Linked DNA regions of Homo sapiens: regions 2, 3, 4, 5, 6 and 7 are each linked to region 1. The links are contacts of gene promoters, found by promoter capture Hi-C in blood cells and fetal thymus (Javierre and others, 2016). All regions are on one chromosome and are shown on one strand. The core of a region is centred on a gene start or on the middle of the fragment in contact, and the rest is flanking DNA. Distances in the headings are between cores, read along the strand shown. Region 1 holds the start of KLLN (killin, p53 regulated DNA replication inhibitor). Region 2 overlaps RNLS (renalase, FAD dependent amine oxidase). Region 3 overlaps LOC101929727 (a long non-coding RNA gene). Region 4 overlaps LOC101929727 (a long non-coding RNA gene). Region 5 overlaps RNLS (renalase, FAD dependent amine oxidase). Region 6 overlaps RNLS (renalase, FAD dependent amine oxidase). Region 7 overlaps LOC101929727 (a long non-coding RNA gene).

Region 1 (3,499 bases), core at 31-2,530:
GGAGTGGGAATTTGGAAAGTTCCCCAACTAGGGACACACGTGACCTCCTTCGGAAAGTAGTTCCGACTGTGGCCCGTGTATCCTTCCACCTCCTTTTGAACCCTCCTAGGTCTCCTCGCCCCGCCCACTCGCTGGGCTGCAGCTTCCTACCGTTCCGTACTTTCCACTCAACCCGGTAACCCCAAACGTGCACGGTCCGGCCGGGGCGCGCGGAGCCTGGCCCCGGGCGATCCATCCTGCCGGGTTTTCACGGCGGCCAAGGGGGGGCGGGGCTAGGTGGTCTCTGAGAACCGAGCTTGACTCCGACGCCGCGAACCGACCTGGAGCCCGAGGGGAAAGATGCTCGACTCTCTTGGGGGCACCGGAGCGGGCGCAGGAGAGGCCTGCGGGGTGCGTCCCACTCACAGGGATCCTCTTTCAGTTCATTTAGATAGGTGCCCTTTGGGCCCTTGAAATTCAACGGCTATGTGTTCACGTTCAGCACGCTCGGCTGAGAGCTTTCATTTTTAGGGCAAACGAGCCGAGTTACCGGGGAAGCGAGAGGTGGGGCGCTGCAAGGGAGCCGGATGAGGTGATACACGCTGGCGACACAATAGCAGGTTGCTCTTTGTGCTAAGACTGACACCATGAGGACACAGATTTGGGGGAAGGGGGAATCTCTAGGCAAAGGCTGTTACAGTCAAATCTCTGCGAACGATTGTGATCCGACAGCGGTGCAAAAGGAAAGAGCGAATGCAGTCCACGCCGCGGAAATCTAGGGGTAGAGGCAAGGGGGGAGGGTATTCCCCTTGCAGGGACCGTCCCTGCATTTCCCTCTACACTGAGCAGCGTGGTCACCTGGTCCTTTTCACCTGTGCACAGGTAACCTCAGACTCGAGTCAGTGACACTGCTCAACGCACCCATCTCAGCTTTCATCATCAGTCCTCCACCCCCGCCCCACAACAGCCTACCCTGCCTCCGGCTGGGTTTCTGGGCAGAGGCCGAGGCTTAGCTCGTTATCCTCGCCTCGCGTTGCTGCAAAAGCCGCAGCAAGTGCAGCTGCAGGCTGGCGGCTGGGAACCGGCCCGAGCAAGCCCCAGGCAGCTACACTGGGCATGCTCAGTAGAGCCTGCGGCTTGGGGACTCTGCGCTCGCACCCAGAGCTACCGCTCTGCCCCCTCCTACCGCCCCCTGCCCTGCCCTGCCCTCCCCTCGCCCGGCGCGGTCCCGTCCGCCTCTCGCTCGCCTCCCGCCTCCCCTCGGTCTTCCGAGGCGCCCGGGCTCCCGGCGCGGCGGCGGAGGGGGCGGGCAGGCCGGCGGGCGGTGATGTGGCGGGACTCTTTATGCGCTGCGGCAGGATACGCGCTCGGCGCTGGGACGCGACTGCGCTCAGTTCTCTCCTCTCGGAAGCTGCAGCCATGATGGAAGTTTGAGAGTTGAGCCGCTGTGAGGCGAGGCCGGGCTCAGGCGAGGGAGATGAGAGACGGCGGCGGCCGCGGCCCGGAGCCCCTCTCAGCGCCTGTGAGCAGCCGCGGGGGCAGCGCCCTCGGGGAGCCGGCCGGCCTGCGGCGGCGGCAGCGGCGGCGTTTCTCGCCTCCTCTTCGTCTTTTCTAACCGTGCAGCCTCTTCCTCGGCTTCTCCTGAAAGGGAAGGTGGAAGCCGTGGGCTCGGGCGGGAGCCGGCTGAGGCGCGGCGGCGGCGGCGGCACCTCCCGCTCCTGGAGCGGGGGGGAGAAGCGGCGGCGGCGGCGGCCGCGGCGGCTGCAGCTCCAGGGAGGGGGTCTGAGTCGCCTGTCACCATTTCCAGGGCTGGGAACGCCGGAGAGTTGGTCTCTCCCCTTCTACTGCCTCCAACACGGCGGCGGCGGCGGCTGGCACATCCAGGGACCCGGGCCGGTTTTAAACCTCCCGTGCGCCGCCGCCGCACCCCCCGTGGCCCGGGCTCCGGAGGCCGCCGGCGGAGGCAGCCGTTCGGAGGATTATTCGTCTTCTCCCCATTCCGCTGCCGCCGCTGCCAGGCCTCTGGCTGCTGAGGAGAAGCAGGCCCAGTCGCTGCAACCATCCAGCAGCCGCCGCAGCAGCCATTACCCGGCTGCGGTCCAGAGCCAAGCGGCGGCAGAGCGAGGGGCATCAGCTACCGCCAAGTCCAGAGCCATTTCCATCCTGCAGAAGAAGCCCCGCCACCAGCAGCTTCTGCCATCTCTCTCCTCCTTTTTCTTCAGCCACAGGCTCCCAGACATGACAGCCATCATCAAAGAGATCGTTAGCAGAAACAAAAGGAGATATCAAGAGGATGGATTCGACTTAGACTTGACCTGTATCCATTTCTGCGGCTGCTCCTCTTTACCTTTCTGTCACTCTCTTAGAACGTGGGAGTAGACGGATGCGAAAATGTCCGTAGTTTGGGTGACTATAACATTTAACCCTGGTCAGGTTGCTAGGTCATATATTTTGTGTTTCCTTTCTGTGTATTCAACCTAGGGTGTGTTTGGCTAGACGGAACTCTTGCCTGGTTGCAAGTGTCAAGCCACCGATTGCTTTCTTAGGCTATCTATATGGTCTCTTCCTGAGGGCTATTGTCCGTTAATACAGAATACAGTACACTGTTAGTGGATTAGCGAGCTCGGTAATCCGGTCTCCTAAATGAACAAAAAAGTAGACGCTTTTTGAGGTTGAGCATATTTCGATTAAATCTTGGCTTAGGCCCTAGATCAAGGGTTTAGATCAGAATAAAATGAAAATTAGTGTTGCACGTACGCATATTGCATCAGAATCTTGCAGTGATTGTTTTAGTTTCCTGAGTTGCATTGATAGATTCTTTTAAAATATGACTGATTTGCATAACTTTAGAAGCAGAATCATTTTCAGTATATATGGTGCACATTGAGGGCAAAAAGTAGTTTTGTTAATGTTTAAACTTAAGTTACCTACAACTTTGAACTGTATGTAGAAGTTTTGTAGTTTGAAGTCAATAGTGCCATAATATACCTTATAAGGCGTTCTTACTAGATCTTTGTTATATTTACCTTTTTCTCTCCCTATGGGGTGATGTAGGATAGTGCTTGAAATTTGCACTTCAGTAGCATTTAATGTTCAGTGCTCTTGTCATAAACATAGAATGGATATTGAGTAGTTTCTGATCCCAGATGGTAATGTGTAGGTTCAAGGGTATTGTGTGTAGCAAGTGAAGATTGCAGAAATAAAACTTCAGTTCATGCTTGAAATTTAAGTATTGTTGTGATGCCAGAATTGCTGCTCACCGTTTTTAGGTTTCAGGTCCTCTGACACCTTTTGGTATCGTTAATTTTACTGATTTGTGTAGAATGTCAGTTGTATTTTACCAGCTAATATCTAGAAATGCTGGCAAGAGGGGTTTACTCCAGCTTTAGATTGTAGGTATGTTAGCTTTTTTCATACAGTGTATTAAATTTACTGAGTCAGCTTGCTGAATAAGACAGAAGCCCAAGAATTTTAACAGTGTGTAGCTTTAGTTGTCTAAAAGTTAGGCCTTCGGGCTTCA
Region 2 (3,743 bases), core at 184-2,683, 430 kb after region 1:
ATTGTGTTAAAAAAAGATATTGTACACAGTTGATCAAATGAAGTTCTTGACAGAAAACCTACACAAAAAGTATTATTCAGAGGCTCCCCATATAGCTGAGGAGAAGCTCAAATGGAGGAACTATTGTATTTAGAAGACTCTTAATAATGATGAATGAAGGGGTGTCCTCTGGCCTCAGACTGTGCACTGCTTTAATGACTGTCTCCTGTCATGTATTAAGTTGAACCACATAAACTTGCTGATTCCGTCGGTCAAAAATGGGAAAATATTGTCAATTTGTATATGGTTCAGCCTAATAGTTTCTTTGCATCATGATTACTAATTGTAAAAGTTCACACAAAAAAGTGCTTTTGGTGTGAAAATGAAATTAAAGATGAAAGGAAAGAGGTAGGCAGACAAGTAGGCTGAGTATTTTCACAAAATGATAGTTGATTATTTGCAAAATAATTCAAATAATGTCCATTCTTCCTTTCATATCTATGCTAAAGCTACAGTGCGTCCCTGGACTAGGAGACATTTCCCCATAGAGAACAGTCATTTGTCTGGCCTATAGAGTGGCTTTATTTTAGGCTGACCTATTCAGCCATCCAGCCCATAATTTGGTTACTTAAACAAACCTTTCTGAAACATGGCAACAGGTGACATTCAAGTGGGTAGGCAAGAATTAAGGTTTTATAAATTCTAATTCTAGATATGAAACTAATGTGATCAGGGAGACTGGACAATGAATAATCAAGTTTTTCCTGCTACATTTCCTCACTTACACCATGAATGCAAATTATGCCACATTTCATTGAATCTAAGGCACCATAAAACACAACAATATTTTATGTACCAATGAGAAAGAAAAAATGGTGTCAACATGACACAAAACTTTATTTTATACTTAATAGAAAAGTTCTTTCAGATTTATCTACATGTATCTTTTGCAAACATAAAAAGGAAATAAAAGAGAAATACATTGGTGAAGCCATTCTAAAGGCTCGCATTTAGAGATGGACTTCTCCGAACCACTCTTTAACTCAGACATGCTGATGTCTGATATCCATGCACTTCCTATGCAGTCTGTCCTCTGTGCTGTCTAAAACACTGGCAATGTGGCATTTCTTACAAGGATGTTCCACTGAATTATTTTTTCTTGGGTTTTCTTCTGAGCTGCTGACACTGTTCTCCAAGTATGGATTATGCTTTTTTCTCTTCACTGGGAAAGAAAGGTTTTCAGACAGCAACTAGACCTCATATTCTTTCCTCAAATTGTTCTTAAGTAATTTGTTAGTTTAAATATCAAGAAGTTACAGCTGCCCACTCCAAGAGCACCAGAAATAACCAAGTTCACACATGTGAAAACTACATCTTGACTATCTCCTGGTGTATACTGATGGAGTGGCATCTTATAGTTGAAGAAATATGGCAAGTACTAAGTAAGGTGAGGGGAGAGGGACAGTAAATACTCTACAGTTTCTCAATGCATGACAAGTCAAAAGATAATGAATGGTAGGATCCTTTAAGCGGTGCTTTTTCAGTTAAGTAGCATTGTTGCTGTTAGGACTTCTAATGTCTTTAGCATTGCTGGTTTAAACACTCCACTTTCTCAGCTCACCCAAATGAGCAGCGTCAGGTGAAACTGACAGAGATATACTGGTTATCTAAGAATCCATTTGTTCATTTTCAAAGGAAGGTAAATGTACCAATTCCAGAACCAAGTCTGGTTGTCTTCCCAGATCATTCATCTTGCTGGGCAAATTTCCCCAACTGTATCACAGATTATGGGGGTGACACAGGTGCAGCAACTCCTGACAGACATCACTAATCAATTGTGGCATTCTTTCCAGGAAGCCCAACAGGGCCTCAGCATCCTTCTCTCTTCCGTGCCTCAGGCAGCCACCACCAGTCAATTGGAGTTGGCATTTGAGAGGAATTCTATATACCAACCCTGGATTAGAAGATTACAGAAGGAACACATAATTAGAAATGAGGGAACTAAATATTCTTTACTGTTTTTTTTCTCTCCTTTCCCATTAAATTACTATAGCTTGATGCATTGCCTTTCTCCAAGCCAGAGACCCTTTAATGCCAAGAAACAGATCACATCAGGAGCCATTTCCTCTAGATGCCGCTGCAAACCCAATTACAATTCCTTCTAACAACCTTCTAAGACCCCTCTCCAGGACACTACCCTTCTCTGGGTCACACAGGTGCTTTGGCTGCTGTGTGAAAATAAAATACAGGCGTTTTAGCTACAACCATAGTTCTACAAAATTGTATGCTAAAAATATCAGGGCTTGTGGAAAAAACAGATTTGGGGGCAGATGACTCAAAGCCTATGGAACTTTGAACCAAGCACTAACAAAACCAATAAACATCATAGTAAAGTGGCTAGTACAGTTAACATTCTTCCAGCTTCTGCATCTAGCTACAGTGGTACACTCTTTGCAGCCTAGATCCTGGGGCTTGTGTTTCTCCTTTGAGATATGGGTCTTGGAGGACAGTTGCTTCTAAAATAGAACATTTTGAGCTAAATTGAAAATATGATCTAGGATGCTGCCTTTTTCATCAGTCTGTCATGTTAATATAGGGGAAATATCTTTGTGGTTTCACCATCTGGACTTCCACTTTTGCTAAAGAGCTTAACATGGTAGAAAACCAGCAATTCTTTAAGCCATTGGAACAGCCACTATTTGCACTAAAGGAAAGCATGTTTGTAGATTTTTAGTTTTTATTCCTAAGACCTTCACATTTAGCAAGGCTTTATCTTTGCCTGTAAGAAAACTTACTCCAATTACTTCAAAATATAAATGAGTTTGAAACCAATATGAGTCTCCTGATACTGATCTCTTATTTCTCAACTGCATACAAGGTAACTCACATTAAAAAAAAAAAAAAAACCTAGTTGCAAAAGACTGTAGATAATTTTACCACTTTCTTATGTTATATTACCTTCCTGCAGGTCATTTTAATAAGCTTTTGGTATGCATGAGCCTTGACAGCAGATGGAGATGTCTAAGCCATCCCTTGTATTTTGATACTCACACTGCATCTTTTAATAACAATTTTCGGCCAAGCGTGGTGGCTCACACCTGTAATCCCAGCACTTTGGGAGGCTGAGACGGGTGGATCATGAGGTCAGGAGATTGAGACCATCCTGGCCAACATGGTGAAACCCTGTCTCTACTTAGAAAAAAAAAAATACAAAAATTAGCTGGGCGTGGTGGCACGTGCCTGTAATCCCAGCTACTTGGGAGGCTGAGGCAGGAGAATGGCTTGAACCAGAGTTGGAGGTTGCAGTGGGCTGAGATCATGCCATTGCACTCCAGCCTGGTGACAGAGTGAGACTCTGTCTCAAAACAAATAACAAGAAACAAAAAAAAAATTTTCATCCACTCCAATGTCTGACAGTGACTTTTTACTTAAATTGTTCCTGAATTCAGAGAAATGCTATTGTTTACTGGTTGCACACTAACTTGACTGGGGAAAACTTTGAGTAATAATCTTCTTGCCTTGGCATTTCCCCTGCTCATTGCGTATGTGAGGTATTGACCATACTGGCAATAATAAATAGCTCTGAAGGCTAAGATGGTATGGAGCTGATTCATACATTTTCTCACTTCCTTGCATTTCTCTACTCTGCTGCCATTGTAAACATAAGCCCATGCCATGGTACATAAACAGCAGAAATTGAATATTTGGTTAACTTGTTCTTTTATAGCCCCTATCTATGCAAAGCACAAAGGTAGTTTTTCCCA
Region 3 (3,454 bases), core at 117-2,616, 380 kb after region 1:
GTTAACTTGCATGCTAGGAAATCACAAATATGCCTACTTTGCAGATGATAAATTCAAATTTACAAGATTATTACTGAGGCATTCAATGTCAGCTTAATTAAAGAAAATCCCATTTTCCCTGAAGCTCTGCTGGCTTTCTGAACTTTTTGTCCTGGAACAATACTCTGTGCTAACCCATTTTATTTTCATTGGTTTAGTCAAAGGACAATGAGTCAGACACTGCAGTTTGGGAGTCTTGAGTTCCATTTTGAGCATGCATAGTCCAGTGACCTTGGACAATCAATGGGACATTTTTTTGTGAACCCTTTTTGCATTTCCCCAAAGGCAAAGCCTTAGTCCTATTCCTCCTTTCTGTCTGCTCAGCACAAACTTGGCAACATTCGTTACCAAAAATCAGGGCATCGATATTTTAATTCACAAGAAAAATCCAATTCATGTAATATCTTTATCCCTCTATGAACTGCGGGGAAAAACGGAAGTAAGCAAGCCCAAATGTTCAGCCTAAAGCATTTGCCGATATTCCTTTAAAGTAATAATCTCCCTGCAAGGCCAGCAGCTCTTTAACGGACACTTCACTTTGCTGTTGGAAAGAAAACCTTTTCTGTGTTCTCTGCCTCCACCTGAACTACTCAGTAACTGAAAGTCATTTTGTTTCTCCTATCACCCTTGGCAGCTATGTACACATTACCCATCCATTTCACTATCTAAATCAGGAGTTGAGGAAAAGTCCCTGTGGGAAGCCTGAATAGCCAGCAGCTGCGTTTGGCCTGGCCAGCTGAACTTCAGCCTGCATCTTGGCCCAACCCCAGGACTGATAACGCCTTTGCTAAGCTTTAGATTTCCCCAGCATTTGCGTGCAAAATGGAAAGGCTGGTTTCCTCTGTCCTGATGGCTTCTCTCAATGCTCTTCGGGCTTGTTAACTTGTTTTAGGCAAGAAGAGAGTGGGGGTGGGGGTTCCTGGGCCCAATCCGGGGTCTGCATGCTTCCAGCCTGCCCCAAGTTGTACAGCAAATGCTGACCTATATTCCAGTGACACACACCAGATATGAGTAGGACATAACTGCCCAGGGCGCTGCCCACTCCCTCCTCCTCCTTGTTCCTCAGCCAGGAGGGCAGCCAGATCCGTACACCATGTTCTGTCTTGTCAGCCGATGGTGTGACAGGCACCGGGGGGCTTATTAGGAGGCAACGCCCCCCCATAATATGAACCTCTGGGCCACACCACACTGTATTCTCTCCAGGAAGAGTAGCAGTAACCGAAAGGGTGCAGACAAGTTGATCTCTTGAGTTAGATCACAATGATTTCCTTCCAGCCATTGTTTTTGGACTGCTTTGCTGTGTTTCTTTAGAGTGGGCAGATGGCAGGATCCTGGAGGTGTAAAACAGCTACAAAAAACAAGATGATTCAAACAGAAGGAATATGTATAAACCCTGCTGTATCATCTCGATATTAATCAAGAGACTTGGCTTTTCCTTCCCCCTTTGCAGGATGTTTAAGGTTTTCATGCTTTTTTTTTTTTCTTTCTTTCTTTTTAAAAGAAGGACACACTGTGTAAATGGGCCACTTTTGGGGTTTTGGCTGAAAAGTTGGTGTCATTTTTGCATTCAGTTTATTTTGAGGACAAGCCCAACTGAGAGACTTTACAGCAAGACCACTTACTTTGAGTAAATGGAAGAAAGTAAAAATGGAACCTCCATAGAAAAAAAGCTAATGCTGGGTAGCAAGGATGGTGCCATCCAAAGTACAGGAACCGAGCCTAAAAGAGACAATTTCAAGTTGAGTTGTGGTTTGCCACAGTGTCCTCGTGATCAGTTGAGTGGTCAGATGTCAGGGGTGACTGAAAATAAGTTCATTTTCCCACAGGGTAAAGGGAGAGAAGAAAAAAAGGGGAAAAAAAGGAAAAGCTTTGCCCATATGAAACAAATACTTTAAAATTTCAGAGTTTATCTGGCATCAGCTCGAAGATTTACCATCATCCATGTGACTTTTGTGAAGAGCACTGAAGAAGAAATAACAGTTGTTGCTTTTGATTAGCATAACATTTTACCCCCCTCCCTTTTCTCCCTAATGATCACAAATAGTCCTTTATGGTGTGATTGCCCAGCACCATTGTTCGTTCAAAAGATCTGAGAGCAAGGGTCTTGGGCTTACGTTATTAAGGCGCTGGCAGGGAGAGGAGAGCTAGGCAGAATGATCTCAGGCAAAGAGCTGCAGTCTCAGAATCAGAACACTAACAGAACCCCGGACCTTCCTAATTCAACCTGAGGTACAGCTTGGCTTTATGATGGCAGCCGCAGAAACGTCTTTTCATGCTGCATGTGTGCAGGAGGACTCTGAGATTCAAAGAGTTAAAGTATCATCTGCAATGGGAAAAAAATGGCTTAACCACAAATTCACCCTGTGCTGGGCTAGTTGTGTGTTATTGCATATATGTGATTTTCTTTTCTTTTTCTTTTCATTTTTTTTTCTTTTCAAATACTATTCTATTTCATGATCTCATATCCTAAAATGTCTCCTTTCTAATTTAGTGAGAGGGACTTCTGGTTCACCACCTGGAACAGGGTGCTTTCTTCTATCATATATGCCAGAAAAGCATTAAAATCTCAAAGGTGAAAACCCAGAGCATCAAATCACCCATTGCAAAACCGAAGGCTTGATTCCTGATTTGGAAATCACGTAACAGGCAACCTCGAATCCCACCATCCTGATGCTTTTTCTTTCTGTTTATCTTTTTGTTCATGCATCCCAACCTAATTTCCTGATTTCACTGAGCCTGTAGCACCTTGAGCAATTCAGTGGCTATAAAATCTCCTGCCGACTTTGTTTTGGCTAGAATTGCAACCCACATGTGGGAGAATTAAGCTAAAACATCACAGAGCTAATAGCGTGCCTCTGTGCAGTGGCAGGCAGATCAGTAGAAAAAGGTGACATCATGGATATTCCGGGACTTCAGGTCTGCAGTGCAAAGCGGCTTCCTCACTACACATCAGAGTCAGAACCTGGATTTGAGACAAAAACAACTCTCCCTTCTCATAAATATCTGCTCTGGGGCTCAAAAATATTCTAAGTGCAACAGCTCAGAACTAGTCCCTTTCCCTTGGAGACTCATCTGACTTTCCAAATCCAATCACAAACTTTTTAATGGCATGTCATGAACCTCTCAGCTCATTATTTCTCTTCAAAGCCCTCCAGTTTGCCAGCTTAGAGCCTGTGAAGTGTTGTTTGATGATGTGCTGCACCATAAATAAGCACATAGGACATGCTAAAATCCATCCTTCACTACTTCTGGCTTTCCCACCAGGAATACTGCCATATAATCAGGGATGTGTGATTTGCAGCAGTTGTTCTGAACTGAGAGTTTTGTTGTTTTTTTTTTAATGCGTCCAGTGTGTAATGTAGGTAATATAACAGATTTATCATGTTTATATAAATCCCGCTTTTTTTTCCTTCCC
Region 4 (3,436 bases), core at 54-2,553, 360 kb after region 1:
TGAATGTTACTGTCCCCCTGCTCCTGAGCTCCTTTGCCCCCTTCTGGGATCTGAGCCCACCCTTCAGGGGAATCTCCTCTGGGGAATGGGAAACCAGGAAAAGTGTGACGGTCCCTGAGCTGAGCTGGTACCCTGATGGCTCAGCACACCTTCCCTGCTACTCCCTTCCCACTGAACAAGCTGGTGTCCATCTGCAGTGAAGGGCCAAGGGTGGACAGGGCATTCTGACTTTCTTGGTGACTGAGAAGCATAAACCCTCTAATTAGCAGTTCCCGATTCACAGTTGAGGAGGCTGAAAATCCAGAAAGAGGACAATGCTGGTGCCAGTAGTTCATATGAATGAGTTGTGGCAGAAACACATCCCCAGCCCTCAATTCCACCCACGGCTATATACTTTGTTTTGAAATCTGCTTTCCTTTGCTTGGAGTCAGCTCGAAGAAGGAGCAAAGCATTTTAGGATTTTGGGGTGGGCAGGGTCAAGACTTCAGGTGCCATTAAGCCAAGGGACTGCTGGGGTCAGGGCTGCATTCTATGAACTTCCCTGGCACTTCGGTCTCATGCCCAAGACAGTGCTCAAATTATAGTGGATGCTTTCAGCTGCATGAAATACAGATATCAAAATAACTTTATTATTAAATGACATCTGAGAAGCCAGTCTTCCTTTGATAGATGAGAAAACTGGAGCCTAACAAGTTTACGTAAAATCTTTCTTGGATTTTCTTATTCGTGTATTTATTCATTCTGTAAATATTTATTTAATGCTGGCAGTGTGCAAGGCAGAGGGTCCAAGGACTCCAGTGCATTTGTAATAGAGCTGGGACCAGAACTCAGGGCTTCTCGCTCCTGCCCTAGTATTGTTTTTACTACAAAATATACTAAGACAGCATGTTTATTCATGACTGGACCTGACCATGTGTTGAGCACCTACTAAATGCCAGTTATCATGTATGGGTGTTTGACATAATTATCTCATTCAATTTTGACAGCATCCTTCTGAAAGATAGGTGGTGTTGTCTTTTGTTTGTGATGAGGAAACTGAGACCCAGAGAGGTTGCAAGGAAACCTGTGTTGGGATTCTGCAGCTAGCAAGTGACAGAGTTCGGATTGAGTTTGAGGTCGTCTAAGTGCCTAATCCAGGCTCTTTCCACTCTGGTGCATTTGCTTCTCAAGTGCTCCCAAGACTCCACCTGCTCCCATCAAAGGGCTGCACTCCTTCAGACCGGGAAGCTTTGTATATGCATCCCCCTACTTGGCATGCCCTCCTTTCTTCCTCTCTACCTTTGCAGTCCCACTTGTCCCTCGGGGCTCACATCTTGAAGAGCTCATACTTCAAGAATGTTTAGAGATGAAGAAATCTGGCCACCAAGGTTTAGCCTAGCCAAGCTTGCTGTTTAGAGAGCCATCATTCCTTCAAATGCCTTTCATTTTGTCAAGTTTTACTGACAAGCTTAGGTCAAACTGGTCAGCAGTACCACTTATATAAATGTTTGTCACTGGTCCTTTTGAAAATGAATGTAGACCTTGAACTGTCGTCTTTTCTTTTTTCTAGAATAAACTGCTTCTTGCCTGGGGGATGGTTATTTCCCATTATGCAGCCAAGTCAGAGAATGCTCTGAATAATCAAATATTCCAATGAATGGAGTTACATTACATGGATCAGCAGCTTTCAAGGAATCAGAATAAAATACACTTAACACAAATACTGTACTAAGCATAATGTAATTTTCTTGCTGGTTTTGCTGCTGATCCTGTGAGCATCAATTATCACTTAACAGGGAATCAAGTAACTCTGCCACTAACCTGCAAAGCGATTTTGGGCACACAATCTTCCATTTTGGAGTACTGTTTCCTCTTCTGTAAAACAAGCAAGTTGGATCAGATTGTGTCTGGTGTATGTGTTGCACATGTGTCATCATTCTCCACTCCTGAGCCCATGTCAGACATCACTAATCAATTGTGGCACTTTTTTTTTTCCTTTGATTTCTGACGGCCTCAGCATGCCTCTAAGCCCAGTGTTCCAGCAGCAAATCCGCTCTCAGTAGACTGGAGTAGACACATGAAATGAAATCTATTTGTTATAATTGAACTAGATGATCTCCAGGGTCTCAGCTTTTATGAGCTGCCTGAGGTGAATGCATGCTGGATGGAAAGTTGGGTGGTAGATAGTTTGTACTATCATTAAGCATTAAGTATTTTACCACTCAGCTGAGGGGTTGGGTTTTTTAATTATTATTTTTGTTTGCCTCCATTTCACTGACACATAGGCTTATGTGGCTACTGAAAACTGTGGCAGGAATTATATCTAAAATTCTGGTGGGTAGATTCAAGTGGATTGTGACAAGGGAAGTCTGGTCAGCTTGGCTCGTCCTAGGATTCAACCCACCTTGGAAGCTGTCCTAATAGAAACAGGCAGAAATAATCCAACCCACATCTGAGTTCCCTCATCCCACAGCACTAGGCTGGGACATGTCATTCTGTGTTATGGCTAGTAGGATGTGATATACAAACCTCCTGGTAGATTATAAACTCCTTGGAGTCTGGGAGGAGGCTCTAGTTATCATTTGAATTCACAGCCTGGTCCCACAACTAATAGGCTGTTTACCCCCTGACAAGTTACTTTCTCTGCCTCAATTTTCAATTTATAAAACTGGGGAAAAATAATAATAATATACCTTAGGGGTTTGTCATGAACCTCAGATGACAACATTGATGTAAATGCTTAAAAGACCTCCCGGAATATTGCTTTTTTTATTATTATAAAATCACAGCCTACACAACGCCTGATGAACAAGTGTTACTAGCATGTGTTGACTGATTTAGTTTTCAAATCACCATGAGAGGTAAGTGTCTAACCTTTGGAAGGACTGATCTAAGAAACAGCAGGGAAACAAATATGACAGGATCTGTCCACAAGACTGTGGGGAATTGAACAGGGCAGAGTTAGTACAAAGGGTTTGGATTCATCTGCTGCTGAGGCAACCAGAAATCAATTCGAGGGAGTCACACAGCAAAGGAGGCAGCTATAGTCAGCTTCCTGGCCTTAGGAGAGATTTTTATTCTTTTAACTAGCATCTTCCACTTTTGGAAGCATAGTCTCAAATCATGAAAATACTCTTGTGAGAGCACATTTTTATTTCATTGTGTCCTCAAACAAACCTGTGAGCTCAAGCTCAAGCTCAAGGCAGTATCACCCCTATATGATTAATGAGGCAAAGCTGAGGCCCAGAAAGGTTATGTAATTTGCCTAAGGATACATGGCTTGTGAGGGCAGAGCCTGGGCTGAGACTTTCAGTCTCACAATCTCCCCCATCCTCCTTCTATCCTGTTCTCTTCAGGAACATATTTCAGTTTTAGGTTTCCCGGCAGTTTTTTCTAAACACTATCAAGTAAAAGCAATTTTATTAGTTCATTGATATAAACAATGAGTTGATAAGGG
Region 5 (3,385 bases), core at 439-2,938, 480 kb after region 1:
GTTAATACATATTCCCTATTTCAAGTATAGAACTTTTAAAATGACCTACCTTAGGAATAAATGAACTCAAGAAAAGCATCTCATATTTCAGATCTCAGATTCCCAAATTGTTATCTTTTGTTTTCTGCTCCCTTGTTTTGATCAGATCTCATTAATTCACTATTTACTTAACAAACATTTCATTGAGAATTTACTGTGTATTAAGCTATGTGCCAGGTGCTAGAGATACAATGATATCCAATTTCTTAATTCATGGACCTTACAACTTGAAGGTAAAACAGGCATTAAACACATAATCACATAAATCAATGTATAGTTACAGAAAATTAAAATATAAGTATAAAATAAATCATAAAAATAAAATAGAGAAACCATTTTAATTAAATTAGGACTTCAGGAATGCCCTCTGTGGAAAGGACATTTAAACTGAGACAGTCTAGGTAGAGAACAGAATAGACAAAGGTCTCGAGGTGGAAAAAAGTATGGGAGGAAAGAGAGGTGTGACTGGAGAGCTAAGGAGTGAGGAGATAGTGAGATCAGGGGTTGGCAAACTATGGGCTTCAGGCCAAATCTGGCCTGCCACTTGTGTTTGTAAATAAAGTTTTATTAGAACACAGCCACGCCCATTCTTTTATATGTCTATTGCTTGGGTTACATCAGTAGATTTGAGTAGCTGCAACAGACTGTATGGCTTGCAAAGTCTAAAGTATCTGGCCTTTATAAAACATCTGCTGACCCCTGTACTAGATCATTCAGGACCTTGCCAGCCATGTTAAGGATGTGAGATTTAATCTCATGTGCAAAGGGAAGGCATTAAAGGGCTTTGAACAGGAAAGTGAGTGGCATGAACAGATGTGTGCTCTAAGAAAACCATTCTGGTTATTTGAAGAATGAACTGGAAAGGGGCAAGGATGGAAAAGCCAGTTAAAATAAGACAGTGTCTTGACAGTGACAGTGACGATGAAGAGAAGTGAATTCAAAGTCTATTTTTGAAAAAAATATCAATACGATTTGGTTTCAGATTGCATATTGTGGTGCAGGAGTGGAAAATATCAAGGATGATTTCGGATTTTTGCCCAAAAAAGCTAGGAGATTGGTGGCTCCATTTTCAAAAATGGGAAAGATGGGGGAGGAAAAAGTTCAGAATAATGAAAGTAGGCAATCAAGAGCCAGTGATGAACGTAAGTTTGATCTTAACATATATATATATTTTCCAAAAACAACAAAAAAGGAGTAAAACAACTCTCAAAAATATATTCTGAATTCTACTTTCTGTCCAGGGCTGGGATAATTTTCCTCTATTTTCCTTGTATTCGTTCCTTTAAAAATTCCATAGATTCTGTCCATTCAAAGAAAAGGCCACATTTAGTGAGACTGCATATATTTCAGGATCTGTTTGGGAGAAGATTTTCTTTGGCCGACACCTCCCAAGCTTCATGAAAACATCTATTTATCCTGGGACACAAGGAGATTTTCAGTCTGTTGCAGCTTTTATTTGCACTGCCAAAAGGAAAAACGAAAGGGTTTCAATAGTCCTTTAATTGAAACGTCCCTGGAGCAGAGGATTTGTCCTAACTCACATTTGGTTTTCCAGGCTCTCACTGGAGTTCTCCTTCCACAATGCCTAAAAAAGCCCTGGTTTTCTATGATGACAGTCCACTAAAATGCTCCACTTTCCCAATACTCACCAGCAGTATGCAGCCACCCCTTATTATACATTGTTATTTTGGCCTACTCAGCATTATGCCCTCTATGAAATTTTGTGTTAAGTGGTATTATGATTGGACTATTTTCCTGAATTGGGCAAGGTTTTCCCCTTGAGCCAGCATACTGGTTTGCCTCTAAGGATATCACTTTATCACTGCAGTTGCATAATTGGGTTCAGCTTTAGATTTGTAGCTGCTCAAATGAGCAAAATACATCTCAGGGCTGGGGGATTTGACCTAAAGCTTTGCTGTCATCCATTTGGTTTAGTAAAGAGAAGTTTTTGCCTTGACATTATAAAATGCTGAATTTGAAAAATTGAGACTAAGCAGATGGTGAAATTTTTATTTATGATAGTGTCAAAATATTCCTGGCTCCTTTTGTGGAGGAAATCTACTGGTTTACTGTGGACATTCTTATCTTCTTTCCTAATAAGACAAATGGAGTTACTCTTCCTGTTATATTTTGACAGGAAAAACAACGATTGGATCTGGGTATTTTGGCAAAAGCTCTTAAATCAGAGGGACTATAATCTTTATGATATTGTTAGCCACTCCCGAGAAACTACTATTATGAATACAGTAAACAAATAGGCATTTTATTTTTAATAAAAAAGAGTGAATTAGGTTCAACTGACCTCAAGGTTCTAAAGTGCCTTTCCTGACTCTGTTAAATAATGTAAGGATATATAACAACAGCAAGAATTCACTTGCTATATTTATAATAGAAATCTATTTTAGTGAGGAAAACTATATTTTAAATTCAAGGATGCTTCATTTTTTACAAACATGAATTTGGAATATTTTATACTAAAGAATTCCCCTAGTCCCACAGATCAGTTATAAATATTAATGGAATTTCAAGAGATTCTTTTCTGATTCCAGTGCTTAATATTCATTCATATTATGCAGGGAATTCAATGTCCTGTACAGTACATATGGATTCTTCTCATTATATAAATGAGCACATATATGGAATCTGTAGGGGCAATGACAATTAAAAATAGCAGGGCCCACATACGATTTTAGAGGGCATATAAAAGCCTTCTCAGCTCACTTAATAACAAGAAATTTACTGGTAATAAACCAAAGGACTCTTTAGGCTCAATTTACTCAATAATGTCACATCTGGGCAAAAAGATGGATTGGTGATTCTGAACAGAGTTAAAAATGCTAACTGATATAAAGTATTTATGAAACGCAATGAAGTGATTTCCTGTGGTGAGATTCTGCAGTCAGACTTCGAAACCTGCTCTTGAATTAGTCTCAGCTCTTTGATTTGCTAACGATTTACTTCACAGTGCTTAGTCTTCTCAGACTATTTGTAGTGTAAATTTTTTTTGGAAAAATTCTTATTCAAAAAATGATTTGACATCCCATAAAAAGAACTGCATCTAACTTCATGTTCTCTGAGTTTAATAACTTATTCAGGTAATAAGATATTGTTTAGCCTTCCTAATGTGTAAGTATAAGTATTATTTTTAACAAAGGGTGATTTTTAACTAAACCTGCACTATTAGTGTGTCATTCTCTCTTCTGTCTCTCAAAATAAAAATTTATATAACTAATGGACCAAAACCATAAAATAATTTGTATGTGACAACAATTATAAAGTTGGCATTTACTATGCACCTATGTGCCAGGCATGATATTAGAAGTTTTGGATATACTATCTCATTCAA
Region 6 (3,507 bases), core at 841-3,340, 450 kb after region 1:
ATGTGCCCGCTTAACCTCTTTACATTTCAGGTTTTTTTTTTTTTTTAATGAGAATAAGTTAGTAGCCACCACTTTTTTTTTTTAATGAGAATAAGTTAGTAGCCACCACATAGGTCTATGATGTGCATTAAATAACATAGTACACATGAAATACTCAGCACAGTTTCTGACACAGAATAGGTGCTTAATAAATCTAAGCTATGGGAATGGAAGCAATAAGCCAGAGACACGCGTAAAGCTTCCTCAGTGTTGCCTAAATTATAGGTGTGAGTCATGTTTTGTGAAAGTACTTCATTTTTCCTTTGCACTCAGCACAAGGAACCCTGGTTTATGAATTTTATGGCAAAACACAAGAGAAGAGAGTCCCAACATGCTGCAAACTTTTTAAAGTGAAGTGAATGCTTCCAAGGAGTTTCACATATACGAGGTGAGGGACCTGAATTCAGAATTTGTGCAGTAAATGCAATGGTAAGCTGGGCTGTACAGTATTTTCACCTCACAGTAGCTGGAACAACTTGAAAGAGGAAATAGAGGGGCCATCTCTTTGAATGTTCAATGTGTAACCTGTCAGTGAAGACTTTACAGGTTCTGTACAGAGGGAAGGACTCAGGAGTGGAAAATCTCAATTTCTTTCACAGAATACCACCACAGTGAGAAATCTATTGCATATTGCCTTAGGAAGTTTTATTTATGTTATCAGTTAATAAACTCAGGGAGGCTTGTTCACAGTGACGGGGTATCAATGCCACCCCTCTTCCATACAGTACCACATCTTCCCAGCAACAGAGAAAACTACTAGGTCAGCATTCTGAAGCAGGGAAGTTGGGGCTCTGAGTTGACTTATCTATGTCAGGCTTCAAAGGAAAATGAATGCTAGCTGCATGCTGAGAATTGGGAGGTTGCACTGACCCAGCTATTTGTTCCAGGGGAAACTCGTAAAGTCACTAAGACCAGTGATGGTGTGATGCCAGGTTTCTCCCATTTACATTAACCATCCACTCCACGGAGAGCAATAAAACATGAAATTTAAGACCTAAAGTGAAATAGTTCTCGCATAACAATGAGAGAACAACCTGCCTACTTATTTTTATTTGAATTGTACATTTATTTTGAAAATTTAGATGAAAATTTGAATAGCTATGACTGAAAACAGTAAGTTTTGGGGAAAAGCTCCCCCAACCCTAAATCAGAGTGTGTTTTCAGAAGCTAAAGTCTAAAAATACAAAGAGTCAAGCAGAATTTAAACGTGATCAAAGTTTGAAAATAGAGCAGTATAAAAAGCCACAAATATGTTAATAGGATCTAGAGCATAAATTCAGCATAATCATTATTCCTTGGTCACGGGGAAGTTAATGATGCTATTTTTCTTTTTCTTTTCTTTATTCAGTTTAACAAGAATATCACCTAGCTTTTGGCATTTTAAATGTAAAGCTCACAGTAAGTTGACAATTATTTCTCTACTTTGGGAAATCAATGGCTATAGAGTCAGAAGATAAGTATTTGAACCTCTGCATCCTTTAATAGCCCTGTAATCTTGGACAACTTAATCTCTCAGGCTTCACTTTTTTCCATCAATTAAAAGGGAGCAACACTACTGACCTTACAAGGCTGCCATGAGGATTAAATGAATTACTCACATAAAAGCCTTCCTTCAAACATAAAGTGCTACACAAACAGAAGGCATTCCTAGGTAATATTCTTGTTTCCACCTCTCCACTGTTGAAAGAGCAGCTTTAGAAAGGGATAACAGAATTGACTTCTCTCAAAGCATTAAGACTGATCATTACATCAACACCCCAGCGACAATGGAAGACTATTCCTGGGTATAGGCAGAGCAGGATTTGATTTTTTTGTGTGTGTTTCGTAAAATATACATAAAATTTACTGTTTTAACCTATTTTACATATACAGTTCAGTAGCATTGAGTATGTTCACTTTGTTCTATAACAGTCACCATCAAGCTGCTGGTTTTCAAGATGCCTGTCTAGTGACATCAGATGCCAGCTCTTTTCAGAAAGATCAAAGTTATCTGTGAATGGACAAGTTCCAAATGCAAAACTTACAGAAGAGATCCAGGACCTGACAGAGTGCCCAGGGGAAAAAGCTGAGATGCAGAAAAAAAAAGCAGCAAGGGTCTGGCAGAGATTGACCCCTGAGGAACTCAGAACCCTGTGCTAAGGGGTAGTGGGTGTGCTTCTCTGCTCCCTTCACCCCTGCAACAATTCACTGACTGTCAAACTGTTGGGGAGCCCCTCTGCCCTCTGGATCACGGGCAATGCTGTCAGTGGTGACTTGGGGGAATTTTCCAGGGGCAAAGAACCAGGTGGCCAGCTCATGTTAAGCATGCCTACACTCCCCTCAGACCTGAACTGACATGGCTGAACTGAGCCATGCTGGTTGTGCACCTGTGGTGGGACACTGCCCTGCCCAGGGAATCTCTGCCCTTGAGTCACCACACCACGAGATTCCCCACAAACATACCCCACAACCCATTCTGTCTCTGGCAAACATGGGGCTGTTGGGTCCCTGTGGAGCTGTGGGAGCCCTGGAGATCTCACCCTTGGTGGGCTGCCCTGAAGGCAATGGGGAGCACAGCCCACTAAAGTCTCCCTTGGGACAAAGGAAATGAAGGAAGTGGCACCAATCGGTGAAGGGGGTAGCACTGATGGCTAGGAAGGGTTGTGGAGAGGGAGTCATCCACCCCTTGCCACCTTTAGCCACTGTTGAGGATGCAGTAGTGGTTCTTCTGGCTGGGGGCTGGTATATGTGCACCTGGAGAAAGCACTTATCACACTTTTTGTAGTGAATCCACACTCGCTGAAAGTGAGCCCATGCTGCTTGGGCTTGCACAAAGGGCAGGGCCCAACTCCCTGACCCTACACAAAACAGCAGCATCCTGGCAATGGAGGACACAGACAAGCCACAGAGTTGTCTGCTCTGGACTGGGGGAAGGGGCTCTGCCCCAAGACCATCTTGGTGGTAGCTGCCAAAATGGTATATCAGTAGCCCATAGCCACATTGCAGCTGGGAACCAAAGGAAAAAGTCTTTATGAACTGAAGGCTGGGAGCCCTGTGACATGGTGTGATAGGGGAAGCAGCTGGCATTCCTGCCTGGTCAGGATGAGGAGCTGGTGCACTTCCCCAACTGCTCCTTCCCCAAAGACCTCAGCATGCTCCAACAAAATCTCCTCCCCTCTATATCAGGGCAGGTGCTTCCGCTCATCATCAATCTACCTGTGGGTGGGCCAGCTCTTACTCTTAAGTGCCACCTACTGGACTAGAGCTTGAACTCCACCACCAAATAAAACACCTGCTGCCAGAAGGGCTGAGTGCTAGTGTATGTGATGAGACTTCCATACCCTCAGCCAAGCAGTAGATAGAGTGTTAGCTCATATGTCAAATATATTGCTACAACAAGCAGCATCCGAGAAAGCCACCACACAAAAGCTACCCACAATGAAGGACCCATACAGCACCTTGGTCCTCTGAAAGCACCTGGAAAGGAGG
Region 7 (3,340 bases), core at 499-2,998, 400 kb after region 1:
CTCTAACTTTGCTGAATGTATTTATCAGTTGTAGGAGCTTTTTGGAGAAGTCTTCTTTAGAGTGTTGTTCTAAATATAAAATGAGATCATTCAGAAGTGCACAATTAATATTGCTTGTTATAACTGATTTGTCTTTCCCTTTTGAGTAATAGGAGGGTCTGAGTTTACTCATGGGTGTCCCAAATGGCGAATTAGTCATTCATCCCTTTAGGAATAGTTCCATGCTTTACTTTTCTCCGAATTCCTTTCCTTCATCTCCCCAGCAGCCAGCATGAGGCAGCTCACATTAGAGAAATTCACCTAGAAAATGTCATAAGGATTGTAGAAGTGACTGTAATTTCCTGGGCTTTTTTATCTAGGGCACTTTATTGGCAGAAGATGGGCTGGTAAAATTTGATGCATATGGGTAAATTCTGAGTGCTTTTTTACCAGGCTGGCTAGTCACGTGATGCTAAGCCAGGAGGTCCTTAGGATGGGCAGGCCAGTCACTTCTAGGCAGGCTCACCCACTCTAATAACAATGATTCACTTCTCCACAGGCTCCCCTGAGAAGATGAATGCTGGATTTACAGCAGATTTGTGCAAAAAGCCCTATGGAGAAAGAAACATAGGGCAGTGGAAAAATGCTCTCAAGGCTTACGTTCTTTAGAGCTTTGGAAATCAAATGGTAATGTCTGGGTCACTGGGGAGGCTGCTCCTAAAATAACTCCCCTGATTCCTGGCCAAAACAGAGGGCTTTTCCCCCTTTACAACTAACACAGGATGTTGGATGCCCAGCAGTCTCAGTATACTTTGCCTTGGCTGATTTTCATTTCTAATCCCATTGCTTTGTAAAGTGTAGAATTATTCTCTTTTGACCAAGCCAACAGTCTAGAAGTTGTGGGTGGGACTTGGTCTTGCAAACAGAAATATTCTATTGTGGTTTGCATTGTTTTTATCATGTCACAGTTCAGACTCCTACTTCCAAGGCAATCTCTTTTCTTTTAAATACACACACACACACACACACACACACACACACACACACACACCCCACACACACCACAAATGCCAAACAACTTCTACTTAAAAAAAAAAGTCATCATGCATGGCTGCCAGCATGTACATCACTCAGATTCTCCCTTTAAGAGAACCTGCTGTGAGAAAGGTAGCTGGCTGCTGGTGTCAGCTGCTATCAGAGCACAAAAGCTGGGCCATTTTCTTCCTCTAACAGTCAATCTTTGCTCTGGGGATCTGCAGTGGCCAGGCTGAGGTCATCTCAAATTTGAATCGTTGTCTTTGGTCTTCATAGCCAGTCCTCCTTCCCTCCTTCTTTGTCTCCCAGTGCAGGTGTCAGACCTGTGTCACTGTCTGAAAGCTGTCCCTGCCTACTCCTGTTCCCTGTACCCTTTATCTTTCATAGGCATTTTCCTTCTAATTTGGTCTTTGTGTCTGTTTTGCAGAGGACCCAAATTAATACACCATAAATTCTAGTTTTAGTGAATTACAAATCTCCCAGGGTGAAGACTCTAGCATCTTGTCAGATGTTTGAGCTCACATTGCTGCAAACCCAGGAAGCAATATATAAGAGATGCTATAAAGCAAAAGGAGGCTGGGCACAGTGGCTCACATCTGCAATCACAGCACTTTGGGAGGCTCAGTCAGGAGGATTGCTTGATCCCAGAGTTTGAGACCAGCCTGGGCAACATAGCGAGACCCCCTCTTCACCAAAGGGGAAAAAATTAGCTGAGTATGGTGGCGCAAATCTATAGTCCTTGCTACCCAGGAGGCTGAGGCAAGAGGATTGCTTGAGTCCAGGATTTCAAGGCGCAGTGAGCTACAATCACACCACTGTGCTCCAGCTTGGGCAACAGAGTGAGACCCTGTCTCTAGAAACAGAACAAAACAAACAACTACCCCCTGTCAAGGAGTGGTTGGACTCCTGGATGAAAATACCACCAATACATACTTTAAGTCTAACCAGGAGAACACAAAACCTACAAATTGAGCACATCTGAACAATAAAGTCAGACCTTCCCATTTTGAGTTAGGGTGCATTTTTAAAAAGATGGCCAATGGCAGAAAGGCTCAGAAAGGAGGAAGAAGTGAGGAATAGAGAATTTGGATGTGGAAGTTGAGAAGTCATGTGATTCAGTGTCTTCTTAAAGGTCTCAGAGGCCACAGAAGGGAAGAGAGCCTGCCATGGCTGTGCTGTTCCCAGAGAAATTTTGATTTTAAATATCTTGGTAAGAAAATTAAATTCTACAGCCTTATAGGGGAGAAACGTTGGTGTAAGATTTTTTCATAAACAGAAAGGTTCTGTGAATTTTGGCAGTGCTCAAAGAAGGTATTCGAGACAACACTTGGTTTTATTTTACGCTTTTCAAAGATTTTGAACTGCATATGGATTCTTCTATTAAATAATCACTAATTGGATCTCTTTTCAGACCTACCATAGTTCAGGGTTGCGTTATTTCAATATGCAAGCTCACCCTCTGAAGGCTTCTCAATGGTGGCGCTATTGGCATTTTGGGTGGACTATCTTGTGTTAGGCAGGATAGTCCCATACCTCTCAAGACCATTTAGCATCCCTGGCCTGTGTCCATTAAATGTCACTTGTGTTCCCCACTTCCCAGTCATTGAAAAAACTTGAAAGCTCTCCATATATTTCCCGATGCCCTCCTCACCTTCAAAGATGTGCTACCATGCCAGATTGGTGAAAAACAAATGAACAGACAATTCCCAATGATTAGACATGGCCAAACCATGCAATAGGACCATGTGGGAGGTGGCTGTGGGGGGGTTGATTCCATGGCCCCTGCATGCTGTATATCTCTCTCACTAGAATGACAGTTTCAAAAATGAATCAGGATGGCTTAAGCGAAAGAAGAACTTATTGATTCCTACAGGCAGACAGGCCAGGGCTGAATTCAGAGCTCAAATGATGCCATCAGGTCTCAGTTTATCTCCATCTCTTGGCTCTCCCATCCTCTGTGTTAACTTTATTCTTGACCTTCCTATGGGGACCCTGGCAGCTCTAGACTTGCCCCACAGAGTGGCATGGCTACCAGCAGCTTTGGCTCAGATCTTTTGCTTCAAGTCCAGTGGGAAACTCTTGCAATGTTCTGAGTCCCAGTCTGACAGAATGAATTTATTTCAAGTTTATTTTACCTCTGAACCAGTTGGTGTGGCCAATACAACATGAAGCACTGACTAACTCAGGCTTAGGGGTTCTGACCACTCCAGCACATGGTGGCTTGCCCCACCCCAGGCCACACGGACTGAGGGTAGTGAAAGGAAGCCTACTCAAATAAAACCTCTGGAAAGAAAGGCTGTTAAGCCCTGATGTTAGGGGGACAATC

The links. The method cuts DNA at HindIII sites, captures the fragments that hold promoters and counts their contacts. A CHiCAGO score of 5 or more calls a contact.
Region 2: a fragment that was not itself captured here is called in contact with the fragment with the promoter of KLLN in region 1 in 1 of 17 cell types (naive B cells); the score reaches 5.8 in naive B cells.
Region 3: a contact is called between a fragment that was not itself captured here and the fragment with the promoter of KLLN in region 1, in 1 of 17 cell types (endothelial precursors). The highest score is 7.7, in endothelial precursors.
Region 4: a fragment that was not itself captured here is called in contact with the fragment with the promoter of KLLN in region 1 in 2 of 17 cell types (total B cells and naive B cells); the score reaches 9.7 in total B cells.
Region 5: a contact is called between a fragment that was not itself captured here and the fragment with the promoter of KLLN in region 1, in 1 of 17 cell types (total B cells). The highest score is 6.1, in total B cells.
Region 6: a fragment that was not itself captured here is called in contact with the fragment with the promoter of KLLN in region 1 in 5 of 17 cell types (M2 macrophages, total B cells, M0 macrophages and 2 more); the score reaches 12.0 in M2 macrophages.
Region 7: a fragment that was not itself captured here is called in contact with the fragment with the promoter of KLLN in region 1 in 1 of 17 cell types (naive CD8 T cells); the score reaches 5.5 in naive CD8 T cells.

The regions. Positions count from the first base shown.
Region 1 is chr10:87,862,253-87,865,751 of GRCh38, forward strand. It overlaps KLLN (killin, p53 regulated DNA replication inhibitor), which reads right to left and starts at 1,281. Exons shown (of 1, transcript NM_001126049.2): 1 at 1-1,281. The coding sequence starts at 235. It overlaps MLDHR (mitochondrial lactate dehydrogenase regulator), which reads left to right and starts at 1,307. Exons shown (of 1, transcript NM_001433720.1): 1 at 1,307-1,402. The coding sequence starts at 1,307. The coding sequence ends at 1,402. PTEN (phosphatase and tensin homolog) reads left to right here and starts at 1,373. Exons shown (of 9, transcript NM_000314.8): 1 at 1,373-2,296. The coding sequence starts at 2,218. RefSeq lists enhancers at 8-97, 348-527 and silencers at 1,128-1,437, 1,528-1,667. The HindIII fragment of the contact is 7,182 bases long and covers 1-3,499 here.
Region 2 is chr10:88,289,707-88,293,449 of GRCh38, forward strand. All of the region lies in intron 6 of RNLS (renalase, FAD dependent amine oxidase), which reads right to left. All of the region lies in intron 1 of LOC101929727 (a long non-coding RNA gene), which reads left to right. Among named protein-coding and RNA genes, the nearest start is that of RNLS, 290 kb to the right of the region's middle. The HindIII fragment of the contact is 3,051 bases long and covers 1-2,959 here.
Region 3 is chr10:88,243,183-88,246,636 of GRCh38, forward strand. The region is part of intron 1 of LOC101929727 (a long non-coding RNA gene); the gene reads left to right. It also overlaps a transcript of RNLS not described here. Among named protein-coding and RNA genes, the nearest start is that of RNLS, 340 kb to the right of the region's middle. The HindIII fragment of the contact is 1,075 bases long and covers 830-1,904 here.
Region 4 is chr10:88,219,854-88,223,289 of GRCh38, forward strand. The region is part of intron 1 of LOC101929727 (a long non-coding RNA gene); the gene reads left to right. It also overlaps a transcript of RNLS not described here. Among named protein-coding and RNA genes, the nearest start is that of PTEN, 360 kb to the left of the region's middle. The HindIII fragment of the contact is 156 bases long and covers 1,226-1,381 here.
Region 5 is chr10:88,342,309-88,345,693 of GRCh38, forward strand. The region is part of intron 5 of RNLS (renalase, FAD dependent amine oxidase); the gene reads right to left. The region is part of intron 1 of LOC101929727 (a long non-coding RNA gene); the gene reads left to right. Among named protein-coding and RNA genes, the nearest start is that of RNLS, 240 kb to the right of the region's middle. The HindIII fragment of the contact is 517 bases long and covers 1,431-1,947 here.
Region 6 is chr10:88,315,708-88,319,214 of GRCh38, forward strand. The region is part of intron 5 of RNLS (renalase, FAD dependent amine oxidase); the gene reads right to left. The region is part of intron 1 of LOC101929727 (a long non-coding RNA gene); the gene reads left to right. Among named protein-coding and RNA genes, the nearest start is that of RNLS, 270 kb to the right of the region's middle. The HindIII fragment of the contact is 3,708 bases long and covers 237-3,507 here.
Region 7 is chr10:88,265,707-88,269,046 of GRCh38, forward strand. The region is part of intron 1 of LOC101929727 (a long non-coding RNA gene); the gene reads left to right. It also overlaps a transcript of RNLS not described here. Among named protein-coding and RNA genes, the nearest start is that of RNLS, 320 kb to the right of the region's middle. The HindIII fragment of the contact is 9,608 bases long and covers 1-3,340 here.